Regions from separate parts of the Homo sapiens genome. Here region 2 is linked to region 1. The links are contacts of gene promoters, found by promoter capture Hi-C in blood cells and fetal thymus (Javierre and others, 2016). All regions are on one chromosome and are shown on one strand. Each heading gives the region's core, a stretch centred on a gene start or on the middle of the fragment in contact. The rest is flanking DNA. Distances are from core to core; before and after follow the strand shown.

Region 1 (2,997 bases), core at 154-2,653:
GCCCTTATGTGCGTTTTAAAAAGATCAGTTTAGCCGGGCACGGTGGCTCACGCCTGTAATTCCAGCACTTTGGGAGGCTGAGGCGGGTGGATCACCTGAGATCAGGAGTTCGAGACCAGCCTGACCAACATGGTGAAACCCCTTCTCTACTAAAAATACAAAAATTAGCCAGGCGTAGTGGCTCGCGCCTGTAATCCCAGCTCTCTGGAGGCTGAGGCATGAGAATTGGTTGAACCCGGAAGGCGGAGGCTGCAGTGAGCTGAGATCGCTCCACTGCACTCCAGCCTGGCAGCACAGCAAGACTCCTTCTAAAAAAGGAGTCTTTTTTAGAAGGACTCCATATATATATATATACACATATATATATATCAGTTCAACAATGGTGGGGAAAAAAGTGGATTGGATAGATAGGGCCAGACTAGAATCGGAGAAGCCAGATGGGTGTTGAATTTAACCAACCGATGGTGGAAATTGAGACAGTAAAAATAGAGATGGTAATGTGGGAATTGATTCAACACCTATTAAGAAGGGATAGTCTTGATAATTGATAGAGATGCAGAGGAAGCAGCAGTAAGTGTCATGGATGTCGTCTAGAGTGTAGTTTTTGAAAGCTGAATGGATAGTGATGCCCAAAATAGGGAATCCAAGAGCAGCAGCAGACATGGGGAAGATGGCGTTCAGGGTTGCACATGTGTGGCGTTAACTTGGCAGCTGGATTTTGGGGTCTGACAGTTAGTAGAGCAGGCTAGGTTCCAGTTGGAGACTTTCTAATCATCGTCAGATAGATGGTGCCTGAGGCGAGGAAGTGGAAGGGCTCACCGAAGTAGGGCAGAAAAGCAGAGGGGCAAAGTCAAAGCAGCATCCTGTAAGGAGAAGGCAGAAAAGCGACGCTCATAGAGATGAAGAATGAACCTCCAGAGGCGTCGGAGCAGATTGGAAGAGACACATTCAGGCTCCATTTAACCAGAATAATTCCGTTATCAAAATGGAAGCGCCAAGAAGCATCGTTGATGGCGCTTTCCCACCATCCATCCGTCCAACACAAACCCACCTGCTTTGAAAAGACTGCCTCACGCAGTGACTCACTTACCCACCACAGCCGCATTCTCTACCTCTGCCTCTTGTCTAGTGAAGCTGGCTCCCGAGGCTTCGGGGCCGCTCCACAGGGACCTGAGGACGTCTCCCCGGAGACCCTGACTCAAGCTGCTCGCCGGCACAGCCGAGCACCGGCTCCCGCCTACTCACCGCGCGGGAGGGACGGTCCCTCCTTCAGGCCAATCTCCTTATCATTGTCCCTGCTGCTGTCACCTGCTGCTGCAGACCGGGGGTCCCGTCCAGTCTCAGCCCGTCCCGTCCTCCCCCCAGCCTATTCCCGGTCCCCTCAACCTCAGGGACACCGCGGCCAGCTGCACCGTTGGTTTTCCAATCAAATCCTCCTCCAGGCCACCAACCAGCGCTGGCCAGGCCAATGCCGACAATTCTTCCTCCGCCACCTGGGGCGCCTCAGCCAATCGGGAGCAGCCATGCTGCGCAGTGCAGAACGCCATAGCGACGGATGACGCCTGCCGGGGAATCGCCGTAGCAACCAGAGACGCGCTAGATCCACCACCAAGCTTGCAAGCAGAAGAGGCAGCAAGTGATGCTGAAGGCTGTGCTGCAGCCACTTCACCGGAACCTAGAGCTACCTGTGAACAGGTCTCCTACACGTTGAAGATTTTTCTGGATTTAGGGTGTCTAACCTTTGATGGGAAAGGGCAGCTTCATCTTGGAGTGTTTACTTTCAAGAATTGCTATGGGCTAAAAATCAATTCTCTTTAAAAGCAAAGATTTAATCTGATAAGGAATCAATGCAGCATGCTAAATACCTTTCATATGGCATGAAAACGTCTTCAGTTACTCAAGCCACAGGCAATGAGAATAAGGTGCCACAGCACCGTATTTTTCACAAAAAGAGTGACCTGGGATTCAAGAAACCTGTATAGTATAACTATCGCCAGTTCGTTTTGTGGCTTTGGGCAAGTCACTTCACCTTTTGTGAAAGTCTGGAGCTTCTTTAAAATTTCTGAACTGCATTAGATAACGCTTTAAAAATATACCTGACATTCTGTAACTTTAAATAAATGAAAAATGCCAATCTATTAAGTGCTTAATTTTGTGCCGGGCACGATTTCAAATTCTTTCCTTATTTCACTTAGTTATAAAATGGAGGCACAAGAAGTTTCCTAAGTAGTCCAGTATGGCAGAGCTAGTGATGGAGTCAGGGTAAAACCTACTTCGAGTCTGGTCTTAACCACGATGATGCTCCTTCGACGATTTCTTCGAGTACTGGGCCCTGTTCAACCTCATCTTGGTATCACTAAACGCTCGTGTGTGTGTCTGGTGGTTACATCTTCCCAAACTGGATTTTAAATGAATACAGTGAACCCTAACGTTTTTCTGGTGTGGATAGTAAGTAGGCCCATTGGATTAACAATACTTAAGCTTGGGTAATTGAAAGCATTTTTTAAAATGAAGACGGTCCTATTTTGGAAATGCAGAAAGGCGAGATGAAAGCCAAACTCTGGTGAGTATAGCAGAACTAATTAAACTTCAGAGATCTAAAACAATCAGGATTAATGTTACCAATAAAACAAAACAAGGTGACGGGGCAGGAAGACCGATGCTGAGTAGAAAAAGTATTCTGTACATACATTCTAAATGTTAAGCAGTCGGCCTGGCTTGGTGGCTCACACCTGTAATCCTAGCACTTTGGGAGGCCGAGGCAGGAGGACCACTTGAGGTTAGGAGTTCGAGACCAGCCTGGCCATCATGGCCAAACCCTGTTTCTACTAAAAACAGAAAAATCAGCCGGGCATGGTGGCACATGCTAGTCCCTACTACTCAGGAGGCTGAGGCACAAGAATTACTTGAACCCAGGAAGCAGAGGTGCAGTGAGCCAAGATCATGCCACTGCACTCCAGCCTGAGAGACACAGCAAGACTCTATCTCAAAAAATAA
Region 2 (2,997 bases), core at 360-2,859, 340 kb after region 1:
TAATATCCTTGTCTACTAATTTTATCATCTGTCACTTTGAGTTGGTTTTGATTGATTTTTTTAATCTTATTGTGGGTCATATTTTCCTGCTTTTTTGAATGTCTGGCCATTTTTGATTGGGTCCTGTGCATTTAAAATATTTTTTGTTCTGTGCTGGTTGTTAGTTTTATTACTATACATATAACTTGAGCTTTCTTCATGGATATAGTTAAGTTTCACTTCTTGTTTATAAGCCTACTTAGATTAAACCAGAGCAGCATTTAGTCCAGTACTACTTTAGCTCACTACTGAAGCAAGACCCTTCTGAGTTCTTTTCCTGATACCTCATGAATTATGAAGTTTTCCACTTTCGTGAGTGGGAAAGGGGACAATCCTCAGTCAGGGTAAATACTGGGTATTAATACCTCTCATCCAGTAGTTCTCAGCTGGGATAATTTTGCCCCATAGAGGTCATTTGACAATGTGTAGAGACACTTTTTGTTGTTACAACTGGTGGGGTAGTGCTACTGGCATCTAGTTGGTAGAAGTCAGGATATTGCTAAATATCCTATAATGCAGCTCCCACAATATAGAATTTTTTGCCTCCAAATGTCAATAGAGCTGAGGTTGAGAAATCCTGCCTAATCCTGTGGGCTTGGGGTATTTTCTTCACATGCGTGTGCTGATCAACACTCAGGTGGAGTTGAGGAAGACCCTATTCACTTCTCTAGATTTTTCTTTCTGGGCAGGTCTCTCCTCTCTGGAACTCTGCTCCAAAAACTCTAGCCATCTTGGCCTCCTCATCCTTACAGTTTTGTCTCCTCAAATCAAGAAGACTGCTGGGCTTTGTCTGGGTCCCTATCCCCATGCTAAACTGAGGCCTGGAAACTCTCCAGGCAGTAAGTTGGAGAAATATTAGGGTTTTCCTCATTCATTTCTCTTCTTTAATAGATTACTATTTTACATTGCCTAATGGAAGCCATATATATATATATATATATATATATATATATATATATCTGGTTATATATATCAGATATATATATATCTGATTTTTAGTTTAGTTTTTTTTTCAAGCAGAAAGTTAATTCATATCCCTGTTACTCCATCTTGTATTAGAGCAGAAATCTGCTTTTGACATTTTTTTCTTTTTTTTGAGACAGAGGAGTCTTGCTCTGTTGTCCAGGTTGGAGTACAGTGGCACGATTTCGGCTCACTGCAACCTCCATCTCCCAGGTTCAAACGATTTTCCTGCCTCAGCCTCCCAAGTAGCTGGGATTACAGGTGCCTGCCACTGTGCCTGGGTAATTTTTGTATTTTTAGTAGAGACGGGATTTCACCATATAGCCCAGGCTGGTCTCAAACTCCCAACTTCAGGCTATCTGCCTGCCTTGGCCTCCCAAAGTGCTGGGATGATTACAGGTGTGAACCACCGCGCCCGGCCATGCTTTTGACATTTTTGAAATTCAATTAAAATCATAGCATTGCTCTAGATCAGTGGTCAAAAGCTTTCCGTAGTGAAATCTTCCTCACAGGAGTATTTTGGTTATTTAATTTTTTCAAGTAGGGTGCCAAAACTGAAAAGTAGGGGGATTTTCACATAAAAACCCAAATTTTTCAGCTATTCTTGAAACATCCTCTTTGGGGAATCTCAAAACAACTCGAGAGTACTTAAGAGTACTCTCAAGAGTATCCTTTAGCAGTCAAGACATTGGAGGGTGATAGGTGGGCTGGATTTCTTCTTCATTGCCCCCAAGCTTCACCCTTCATTCTTTTCTGTCCTGCCTTGTGCCATCCTGCCTCCTCTATAGAGGAGGCTGACCTCTATGACTGCATCAAGAGATTGTTTAGCCCTTTGGATTCTCACTGGGTTCAGCCAAACAGGGGCACTGAGGGGATTTGAGGGTGGAAGGAGAGAGTCTGGCCTCCTTCTTGCTGGTTTACTAAAGGTTGGTCAAGTTCTTCCTAAAGCTGCAGCCTTTGTCAAATGGTCTTATCCACACTACTCTCTCTTTGGATCTGGCAACCTCGCCTATGTACAAGAAAGCTGGCAAACACAGAGAAACCAAATACCTCGTGGACCTTATTGCCAGGTTAAGAATGTGACTCATACATTTTTTTTTCCCGAAACTCCGATGGGAAATAGGGCATTGCAAGGCTTGGAAATGTTTGATTGTCCTTTTCCAGTGAGTTTGTTTTTGTTGAGAGGGAAAAAGGAATGGGAGAGAGTTATTTTGAGGCATGTATCTCCAGATTAAGATTTAGTTGTATTTCTAGAGACTCTCTTCTATTTAAATTCTGTTTTTCAGTTATGTGTTTCATCAATATCATTATGATCACCTTCCATAGTCTAGTCAATTCACAGAATCTGTTTTGACAGCTCTGAACAGAAAAGTCCCTAATGGAAATATTAGATACCATCTTAACCATTTTCTCCAAGTTGTATTCTACACTCTGTAATCTCAGCTTAATGTTATTAGCTCTGGGGCACAAATACACACTCCTACATACAAGCATGTATACACATTTTTGCACACTAACTTAACTCATGCTTCTCTGTGCTCTTCTATAACAGCTATGTAGTCTGTGTCTGTGGTCTTCTAAATATTTAGTGATGAGCACAGACTATTGGTTAATTATATCAACAACAAGCCTTTTTACCAGAGGAACTTGAATCCTGAAAGAAGTAAAATACCAAAGATCATTCTTGGGTTTTAGATCTGTAAGATAAAGACAAAATTTGCCTGCCAAGATTAAGAAAACCAGCAAATATGTAGGGTGAAGAACATATATTCTGTGGATTCACTACCCCAAAGCTATATAGGCCAAAGTGTGCAATGAAGAAGGCACCACTCCATGATAGGCTTAAAAAAAGGCTGAGTGTGGTGGCTCATGCCTATAATCTCAGTGCTTTGGGAGGCTGAAGTGGGAGGATTTTGAGCCCTGAATTGCAAGATCAGCCTGGACAACATAGTGAGAATCCATCTCTACAAAAAAACTTTTTTTAATTAGCCAGGC

The links. Contacts are between HindIII fragments. The CHiCAGO score rates a contact against its expected background, and 5 or more counts as called.
Region 2: a contact is called between a fragment that was not itself captured here and the fragment with the promoter of NEK10 in region 1, in 11 of 17 cell types (total CD8 T cells, M0 macrophages, M2 macrophages and 8 more). The highest score is 10.1, in total CD8 T cells.

Annotation. Positions count from the first base shown.
Region 1 is chr3:27,367,980-27,370,976 of GRCh38, forward strand. NEK10 (NIMA related kinase 10) reads right to left here and starts at 1,404. Exons shown (of 36, transcript NM_001394966.1): 1 at 1,246-1,404. RefSeq lists an enhancer at 662-1,162. The HindIII fragment of the contact is 2,054 bases long and covers 1-1,611 here.
Region 2 is chr3:27,706,386-27,709,382 of GRCh38, forward strand. It overlaps the pseudogene KIAA1143P2. Among named protein-coding and RNA genes, the nearest start is that of LINC02084, 5.0 kb to the right of the region's middle. The HindIII fragment of the contact is 249 bases long and covers 1,486-1,734 here.